Regions from separate parts of the Homo sapiens genome. Here region 1 is linked to region 2. Evidence: promoter capture Hi-C in 16 types of primary human blood cells and fetal thymus (Javierre and others, 2016). All regions are on one chromosome and are shown on one strand. Each heading gives the region's core, a stretch centred on a gene start or on the middle of the fragment in contact. The rest is flanking DNA. Distances are from core to core; before and after follow the strand shown.

Region 1 (5,089 bases), core at 327-2,826, 730 kb before region 2:
TGGGAAAGTATGTCTTTGTCAGTTTCTATAAATGGAGCAGGTTCTATTTCCTACTAATATTTATTGTCAATCAATTCTACAAAGGTAGAAAGGATCTTCTGAAATTGGCCAGCCAAAAATACATGTTGCATATAATAAAAGGTCATATGTTCATCTTTGCTGGTTTTCCTGCAACTATTAGTAAATAGATGTTTTATTATTCCATGTTTATGGAAAAATATATGTAAAGCTGCCATTACATTCTATACTAATTGATCAAAAGGAAATCCTCTGTGTTTGTGCTTCCATAGATGTGCATTTGTTCCCTATTTCTTCCTAAGCCAAGGATAAGACACTCACACAAGCTCCTGACTCAAAACATGGCTCTGTACCAAAGAACTAATAAGCACAGGCAGGGTCCTTTTGTTTGTTTTCTTTTTTTCTTCTTCTTCATTTTTTTTTTTGAATAATTGCTTTCCCTATTTCTTTCTTACCAATTCAGCCAACACACTTTATCTCAAGGAAATTACATTTGCTCACATAGGTGTGTGAATAAGCAGAATGACAGGAGTTTGTTTCAGCCGGAATTAGATGGATATTGCAATTACTTGGGGAGAGAACGTTTCCCTAAATTCAGCGACGAATCCTTCTCAGATCAAAACAAGGATTACTTGAAAGATGGCTTTTGTGCCTTAATACATATTGTGTTTTGGGAGCATATAACTACTTCTTACTCTGTGGTAAAATATTTTTTTGGTTTTGGGAAAAACAAATACATCTTCACAATGATAGTGAGAACAGAAAGGCTGAGTTTTCTGGTCAAAGAAAGGGGATTAGAAGCTTTTCTAGTGATGTGATCCAGACTGAAAAGGGAATGTTGTGGATGTTTTTGTGGCTTGAAAGAATATTCAACCAAGAGCCTTCATTTAGGATTATAACTAGAGCCTCCTTTCCTGACCATGTTCTGCCAGGCTCTCAGGTACTGTTTCTTTGGACTTCTCTTGACATCCCATACTTCACTTTGCTCTACAAGCTATCTCAGTTTTTAGTTTGCTTATCTAATGGTTAATAAACTTCTTGAGGCCAAAGAATGTGTACTTTCTGTCTAGAACTCTTAGTTCTTATTGTAGCTCTAGCATCTAGTTAAGTCAGAAGCCAGAACATTGAAGGGATGAATGACTTGAACACCGAGAGCTCAATGATATCATGGAATTAAAGTCAATATTTCTTTTTTATTTATATTTTAGAATCTATACAGCAGTCCTCCCTTATCTGTGGTTTCGCTTTCTGAAGTTTCAGTTTCCCGTAGTCAATCGAAGTCCAAAAAATGTTAAATGGGAAATTCCAGAAATAAACAATTCATAAGTTTTAAATGGCTCACTATTCTGAATAATGCATTGAAATCTTGTGCTGTCACACTCCATCCTGCCTGGGCGTAACTCATCCCTTTGGCCAACATATCTATGCTCTTGTATATGTTACCTCCCTGCTAGTCACTCAGTAACCATCTCTTATCTGATCGACTGTCTCAGTATTGTAGTGCTTGTGGTCAAGTAATTCTTATTTTACTTAATAATGGTCCCAAAGTTCAAGAGTAGAAATTCTGGCATATTGTTATAAAGTACTATTTTATTATTATTGTTAATCTCTTACTGTGGCTAATTTATAAATTATACCTTATCATAGGTTACATATAGGACAAAACATAGTATATACAGGGTTCAATAGCATCTGAGGTTTCAAGAATCCACTGGAAGTCTTGGAAGGTATCTTCCTCAGATAAGTGGGGACTATGGGATGGATGTTGAAAAATGGATTTTGAGGTTTTTTTTCATTACTTGCTTGCTTATATAATTTTTTTCAAGAATTTCTACAGAGTGTATATATATATAATTTTAATAATTAGAAATAAATGCAAAAATAAAAAATGTACTTTTTAAAAATGTAAACAATACCTTTTAAAAAAGAAACATTGAGATTTTTAAAAGCAAAAATTTAAAATTCCTTAAGGATTTCAGTTTTGGAATAAGATTCTCCCCCAACCTCCTCCACCGTCAAATCGTAACATAGTTGTATTCACATGAAAGGAAGGCAGAATGAGCATGCTGGAAATATGGTGTAATACTAACAAACGACATGAGAAAGAGAGAAATCTTTATTTTTATTTTTTGTTTGACATTTTTTTCCCAACTGGAAAGTAGAATAAAGGTTAATAAGAATATATGGAAGGCCAGGAAAGGAAAGGCCACGTTAAGAAGATACCTACGTATGTCAAATGATTTCTAATATCAAGCCCAGATAAATTGCACTCTGGAGAGGAGACAAACTTCAAGAGCAGAGATGACAAAGTAAGCATAAGCTTCTAGAAAAGCTTATACTAGGCCATTTACAAAAAGAGAGGGAGAGAGAAATGGATTACGAATGTGACAGATTTGTAAATTTGACAACAATTTCTGGGCAAAATAAGTCAGGAAACACATGGTTTTGAGTTCACAGAAAAAGGGCAACCACTAAATTTCAGAATGTATTTTAAAAGGATGGGAATGAAAGTTACTCTTGATTCCTTTTTTGGGGTAGGATTCTAGACTTCTGGATTAGGTGATTTAAAAAGCAAAAGCAAAGTCTTTTCAAATTTGAGCAAGTCATGGAACAGTTTTTACTGATTTGTTGCTGACAAATTGGAGAGCTGTGAATAAAGAATGTAGGTCATGAGATTTTACCCAGAAAGTGGCATATGAATGCCCAGCCTCACAGTCCTGTATTTGTCCCTGTCCCTTTTAAAATGCTGCACAACAACTTGGATGTGGGCTGAAAAGTTACACAAATGCTTTGAAATGGAGGATCACATAATAAATATGGAATTCAAGACAAATTTAAACTGGTTGGAACAAACAGCTAAAACCAAGACGACTTTAACATAGACAAATTCAAATTCAATTGTTTAGGTTAAAAAAAACAACAGAAATAGGAAGACTACTCTGAACCCATCTTAATATAAATATGAGCAAATTTTTATACAAAGCAAATCTCTTTACAAGCCAACAGAGTGATGTAGCGATTAAAACATTCTGATATCCTTTTGGATTGCATTAATAGTGTGTTAATGTCAGGTCCACAGGAGCCGATGTTCCTACCCTATATTGTTTTTCTCAGTTCACACCAGAGTGTGGTATTGAGCAGATGTTCACTGATTCAAGAAAAGGGTGACTGGAGAATTTACATACAACTAACAGAAATCTCTGATGGTACTGGGCATATTTGTCTTAAGGGAGAAAGATTTTAGGGACACCCTGATAATAATCTTTCTATATTTAAAAGGCTTTTATGTAGAAAAGAGAATAATTTTGTATTGTTCCAACAGGTAATAGAAATTGTTACAAGAATGGGGAATTCAATTCAGCATGAAGAACTTTTTAACTATTAGAACTGTGTGAAATTAGAGTAGAAAGCCTTAGGAGGCAATGAACACCTGTGATTTTGAATATTCAGGTGTGTAACTGACAATGCTCTAGGTAGGTATTTTTACATGGTGGTAATATTGAGTTGAATTAGGCAATCTAATGACTTCTAAGCCTAAGGTGTTATGAGCTTATAGGTTCTGTTTGTCTTTACTTTTTAACTCCAAAGGCAAACTTTTAATATCTTAAAATCACCCTTCTTATATTATAAGATGTCTGGGTGAAGATAGTAAACAAAACTATTTAGGGAAGTCTAAATGTATTTGGCTTGCTATTCTTTGACAAATCTTAGCTGAAATTGACATTAACCATGACATATATATGTTATCATGCTCTATCTCTATTTATGATTGTTGCTTTGCACTGCTGTCATTCTTCAGAAGTTTCTTTCTTTTGACTTTCCTTAGAATTAGCTTTAGCGATGAATGAAACTTCAAATTTGTACAGTTTAATATGCTTTTAAATAACTAGAGTAAGACTTTTATATTCTCATTTTAGGTATTATGCAGACTGTAAATGCAAATTTTTACAGCCTAGGTGTGTAGGCAATGGGCAAGTTTACAATCTGCATTAATACTATAATTTCAGCTACATTTATTAACACCTACCCTTTGTGGGACAGACTTATGATCACTTCATGTGCTTTATCTCATTTAATCTTTACAAAAATCCTCTCATATAGATAACACTCTCATGTTATCAAAGCTTTAGAGAATTTAAGTTATTTATCCATAGTGATTCAGAGCAAAAGCTTTATAGCACTGTACCTCATATTACTAGAGAGTAGAAAGATTTATTTTGAATATACAAGAATCTGCCATTCCATTCCACTTTTTCCCTTTTCCAACCCAGAATCAGATACCTTGAAAATTCCCTTTTATACTTTTCTTTTTTCCCCTACCAGCTACACATAAAAAACAAAACAAAACAAAAAAGGAAAACAAAAAATAAATTTCTGTAATCATTTCTTCTACCCATCCTATTAACAAGTTTTAGTCCTAAACATTTAGGACTGCTTCCAAAAGTTAAGTGGTTTTTTTTTTTTTTAATGTTCTACTTAGTTGAGGCTAAACTGTGCCATGTCCCAAACCATCATCCTTACAGTGTTCTTAAAATGTCTCCAAGTCTCACTTAAAACAATCAATCAACTGGGACCATTCATTGGAGTCCACAGTGGGTAGATCCCTGACCTAGTTCCCATGGAGAGTAACCAAAGAAAAGGAAGACTGCCAGCTCACTGAAACACAAAGAGACATAAGAACACATTCAGAGGGATACATGGAGCAGGGATGAATTAATCGAACGTTAGGGGGTCAACCAGCTTATCTGTTGTATTTCTATAGGACATTGACTACCATAGCTGAGTGTATTATTAAAACTTTTTCAATGCAAATATTATAAAAGGCATTCTGCAGTGAGAGCAGATTCCCTGACTTTGTATTCATCCTGTCCATGCAGGATTAGTCATTGATTTCAGCAACAAGGAGCACATACAGTATCTTTACCTGCTGCTGATTGCCTCACTTTCGTTCACCGCACAGACCATAGGAGGCAGCGACGTCACATAGTGGGATATGTTAATCCAACCAAGTCTCTAAATACACAGCCAAGCTTATTGAGACAGAGCTGTGACGTTCCTGGAACAATTTTTT
Region 2 (5,214 bases), core at 2,536-5,035:
AATCTTACAAATTTCAAATTATTTACTCTGGTTTACTTACAAAGGCACAAAAATGACATTGTAAGGAATAGTTCAATTTGAGGGAAGAGGCCTGGGTGAGGCTTTAGGCACGTTTACATGGTCTACCTTGGCTGAATTTCCAAGCGATTTAACTTAATCTCTTTCTGAAAGTTTCCAGAAATTAATAGTATTTATCTACTTTTACAAAAAGTTAGAAATGACTTTCATGTCTAAGGGAAAGGAGATGATCATATACAGGAAGGATAATTTGGAAACACTTTTTGCAAACTATGGATTTTTAGGTCCTATCCCAGACCTACCAAATCAAAATATCCAAGGGGAAATTTTTGAAAATTGTATTTTTTTTATAAACACGCCTAGTGATACTTTTATCATTCTGCAAACTTTGGAAACATCACACTAATACATCTGTAAGGTTGAATTTACTTGGCCATTACATTCTGCTTCCATAGTGTTTGTACTAAGATGAGAAAATGTTCACTGTAAAATACTGTATGGCAAAAACCAGAATATACACTATAGATGATAGATAGAAGATAGACAGAGAGAGAGAGAGAGAGAGAGAGAGAGAGAATGATCAGAATGCAGCACAGAATAAATAAAAAGTGTCACTGTAAAAGCTGGCCTTGGAAGTCCTCTTTTTGTTTAGAAAAACACTTGCATATAAATAGAGAAGCCCAGTATCTGCCTGAGAGAAGGATGAGTGTGAGACAAAGCATAACCGAAGAGCAACAGCAATTTTTACTTCCCTGGTTTTTCTTGGAAGAAGGCCAGATATTTTTTAAAGGGAAAAGAAGAGACACTGAACAAGAGATTAAAGTTCCAGGAGAAAATTGAATAACTGTTCAATGAGGTATTCAGATGACGGGGAGATATAAAAAAAAGAAGGATATCTGCTATTGAAACATAAACTTTTTGCTATAATGTGTTGTCCTGAACTCTGATATAATCCCCTCCTATGCCCTGACCATCAGGAAGCATGCTCTGGAAGGGCTTAAGAGAAAAGCCACTGCTATGTCACTATATTCTACCTACAGGTTGATACAAGGCTGAGAGAAAGGAATGCTAGCAAATCAGAATGGCATATGAGCAGATACAGATGTGTAACTATGCCAAGTATTTCCCCAGATGTACTAGGATGACTCCAGAAATCTAAAATATCTGGATAATCTCATGCAGTAAACATTTTATTGACATTTTGGTTACACACACACACACACACACACACACACACCCACACACACACGAAAGACGGAAAGAAAACAGCAAAAGGTAGAAAGTTTATCTCTGGATGTTAAAATTGAGCATATATTACCTGCATAACAATGAGGAAAATGATTAAGCTTCGGGGATCATTCTTAGACATTTTAAACAAACACAATTCTAAATTTAACAGAAGATAAGCGAAGTTTGATAATTTAAAATTCTATAGGACCAAGAGCTTGCTTCACTAGTTAATATTTAGAAACATCAATTGGTCAGTCTGTTGTAAATAAAATCCCTGGGTTCTTGAAGGATGATGTGTTACACAAAATAATTTACACTGAACTATTTGATCGTGCATAGATTCCACTGGTTCAAAGTGGAGGAAAACATTTTAATGATTTTACATTCATCTGTACAATTCTTTCTGCTATCAATCATATAGTGGTCCTTGGCATTTTTTCCTTGTTTTAAAGTAGCTTTTTACCCTATATAAAGAATAATACATATGAAACAGTATTGTATTTAACCCTAAAATATTCCATTTCTGCTGTCAGATAAACTGAGTTTGAAGGCTATCTCTACCCCTTACTCCTGTGTGACCCTGGGTAAGTTATTTACTGTCTCTACAGCTGTGTTTACCCATCTTTAAAAATGGGGATAATGATTCTTCCTACTTCATAGGGCTTTTGTGAGAATTACATGATAATACATGTAACAAACTTAGCATAGTCCTTGGCCAATTGCACAAAATAAATTAGCTATGAAATGTATTTGTTCATAATAGAAACTTCAAGAAAAATAACTAGGAAAGACATAAAAATCCTCTATAGTCTCACCTCCGAAGCAAGCGATAACTGTCATTTTGGTATCTTTTATTCTTCCTTCTTTATCTAAAGACAAATTACAAAAATGAATCTATTCATACATATTGTATTTTAATCTGATAAGTTGTGTATAAACTAAATCATTTTCCCTGTTACTAAATATTGTTCAAAAAAATTATTTTCAGTGGCCACATGCTTTCCCATTTGTAAAGCAGTATCATACTGTATTTTAAAAATATATTGCTGAGCATAATGGTTGTTTCCAAACCACCAGTATTTCAAAGAGGCTGCATTGACCATCCTTATAAGTAAATATCTCTACATATTCATAATAATTGGTTTAGAATCGATTTCTAAAGTTAGAATTGCTGAATCAAATGGTATATCTTAAATGTATATTTCATACACGTTTTAATGTACTGCTAAATTGCCTTCCAGAATGTTTGTGCCAATTATTACTTTTAGTAGTATATCAAATACTTTTTAAACAATAGATACATTCACTTTAAAAAGAAATGGCAATGACTTTTAATTTTTTAGCTTATTTTATTGAGTTTGAAAAAGATTTGGCCACTTGTTTTTTTCTCTCTTGTATACTGTATGAACATTTGAATTTAAAAAATGTATACTGCACTGCTTCTTTAATTGTCATATTCACTGAGGTAACATTTGTTGAGCATCTACTCAAGACAGGCACACTGCACAGGGTGAGAGATGTAAAGACCAGGACACTTATGCTAAAGTCAGTGGTGTCCATGAAGAGCAGAGGCACAGTGAAATTTGCCTGGTCCTTCTAGGGGCTTTGGAGATGCATATTAAACATCTGAAGCCAAGGGATTCTTCTTAGAGCTGTCCTCCCAAGAAAGAGGGAACCAAACAATGAGGAGATTTGGCAAGTCCTACCCAAAGAGAACTGACATTTCTTAGGCATTTTATGAAGAGATACATAGAACTCCAGTTCCACTTGTTAAAAGCAATAACTGCTTTCACTTACTGAACATGCACGCTGTGGCAGGCTCACTGCTGATATTTTACAACTTTCTGCGATCAGAAAGGTTATAACCCGTAGATCTGCCAATGAGTGGATTCTGACCCTGGGTGAAGTGAATGAACTAGCCCAAGAGTTTGCAATTCTAAGTGGAAATGCTGGGATTCACCATCTGATCTGATGCTTTGCTCTGTCTTCTCTTATTTACACCCAGGTTTCTCAGCTTTCCACCTTTGTTATATTTGCATTTTGCCATACCTGCCTGTTAACCTTTTCTTAAAACAAATTGATCATCTATGTTTATTTTTGAACACTTTGTTGTTAGTTTCCTTAAAAAGGAAACTTTGTATCTCTATTATAAATAGAAAATCAGTTATATTTGCCATATAAAAATAAAATAAGTAAAAATGTATGGTTTCATGTGTACCACCAAAAAGCATTTCATCTTTCTATCCCCTTTCCCATCTCTTGCCAGAGGCCAGGCTATAACACCTGAGGAAACACTGCCCCAGTCACTGCAAACATTTAGTCACTAGGGACAGCAGAACAAGACTGTGGGAACTTGGTAAGAACCTGGGACCCTTTGTACCTTTCTTCTGTTGGTTTCTTTATTCTCATTCTCTTCTGGATGGTCTCCAGAATAACTGGGGAGACAACACTTACAGGAAAAGCGCATGTGTTCTTGTCTCAGAGTGGAAGAAAGAAGAGCCGCCGTGTTCCAGCTAGTGCTCAGAGAAGGTGCTCTACATATCTTGTTGACCTTGATTTGAGCTATAAAAGGCTGCTGACTCAGAGCATTAAAACAGAACCACTGGCTTATTCTCTGAGTAATTCAAGTCTGCCTTTCCCTCAGTCGATCCCAGAGGTGGCTAGTCAAGCCTGGCGATGTTCATTTACCATCAGAGATTAAGCCTGTCTGGCCAGGCTTTGTCTGGTAGCATTTTCTTAATCAAATATAATGACAATTTGAATAAACTCAAGTCCATTGAACATTGTTCATGTTTTATTATTAAGAAAAAATAGGCACTTTGATTCTTGGAACACTTTTTAAAAGGCTCCTCGCTGTGTCAGTCTCTGTTTGTTATTTTGGGGCATGACAGTTATCTAAAGAGAACCAGCCAGATTTAATCTGACAGCCACAGTCAGGGAAGAGCGCTACCAATCTAATTATCCAGTAATCTAGTCAGAATGGGAGTAATTCTAGGCCTTTCTCAGGCAGCTAATCACATTTCCTGTGCATTAGCAGCCACACATGGGGAGCTTTTAGGAACAAGGTTTTTGGCCTGCACGGGCTTCATGAGCCTCATAGTGGTATAATTTCTTTGTTGACTTCTTCCCCCAGAGTGGTTTCTTCAGGATTTTTCATTTTGTTCTCATTCCTACTTTTCCCCTGCATTGCCGAGGGTGTCTTAGCTTAGCTTCAAGTTCTAAGTTTGACGAGCTTCTGACTTTCCTTTCAGAATGCAGCAGAGGAGGAAGGGTACATTCACGGATCCATATGCTTATTTCTTGTGCAGGGACAAATTAAGGAGCGTAACACAGTCTGCAGGGAAAAAAGGGAGAAAAACGTGAAAGTTGTTTTCTTCAAGGAAAGCGCCGTTGTTTGTGGGCCATTTTTCATGTCATTTCTCTATCAATGTGGGTGATTTGAGGGAGGTTTCTAGAGAAAAGGCCGGAGAAAAGAGACAGTTAATGGATATTTAGTTCTGTCGTTGTCTCTGAATGTCAAGCTGTAGGTAATATTGATCTCGTCTCATTTCTGTAATCACAATTTTAACATGGAAAAAGGAAAACACACACACATTCAGGGAGTGGGAGCATTAATGAATTTCCTGCCATTTTCTTTCTCTGAAAACCTCCGTTTAGGATAATTTCATATTAGTCCTGTAAAGCAGAATGTTTTTCGAGTGCATTGGTTTCTCACACTCCAAAATTGAGGTTTCAGTGGCAGTATGCCGCTTCTACCCCCAGCTTTCAAACATTTCTCCAGCTTCTCATAATCACAGCTTGGTTAGTCTGAATCCAAACATTTGAATCTAATAGAGGGGAATTCTAGTCACTAACAGGTTTACAATATAGTAATTTTCCCCAAAGTTATCCATGATAAATGGGCTTCCCAAATAGCCTCTAGCAATCACAGCATAACGCATTAGATGGAACACTCCAAAAAAATAA

What was found. Contacts are between HindIII fragments. The CHiCAGO score rates a contact against its expected background, and 5 or more counts as called.
Region 1: a contact is called between a fragment that was not itself captured here and the fragment with the promoter of RBMS3-AS2 in region 2, in 1 of 17 cell types (endothelial precursors). The highest score is 6.3, in endothelial precursors.

The regions. Positions count from the first base shown.
Region 1 is chr3:28,911,263-28,916,351 of GRCh38, forward strand. No RefSeq gene overlaps it. Among named protein-coding and RNA genes, the nearest start is that of LINC00693, 340 kb to the left of the region's middle. The HindIII fragment of the contact is 1,519 bases long and covers 818-2,336 here.
Region 2 is chr3:29,639,031-29,644,244 of GRCh38, forward strand. RBMS3-AS2 (RBMS3 antisense RNA 2) reads right to left here and starts at 3,786. Exons shown (of 3, transcript NR_174948.1): 1 at 3,629-3,786; 2 at 2,064-2,117. The region is part of intron 4 of RBMS3 (RNA binding motif single stranded interacting protein 3); the gene reads left to right. The HindIII fragment of the contact is 8,371 bases long and covers 1,363-5,214 here.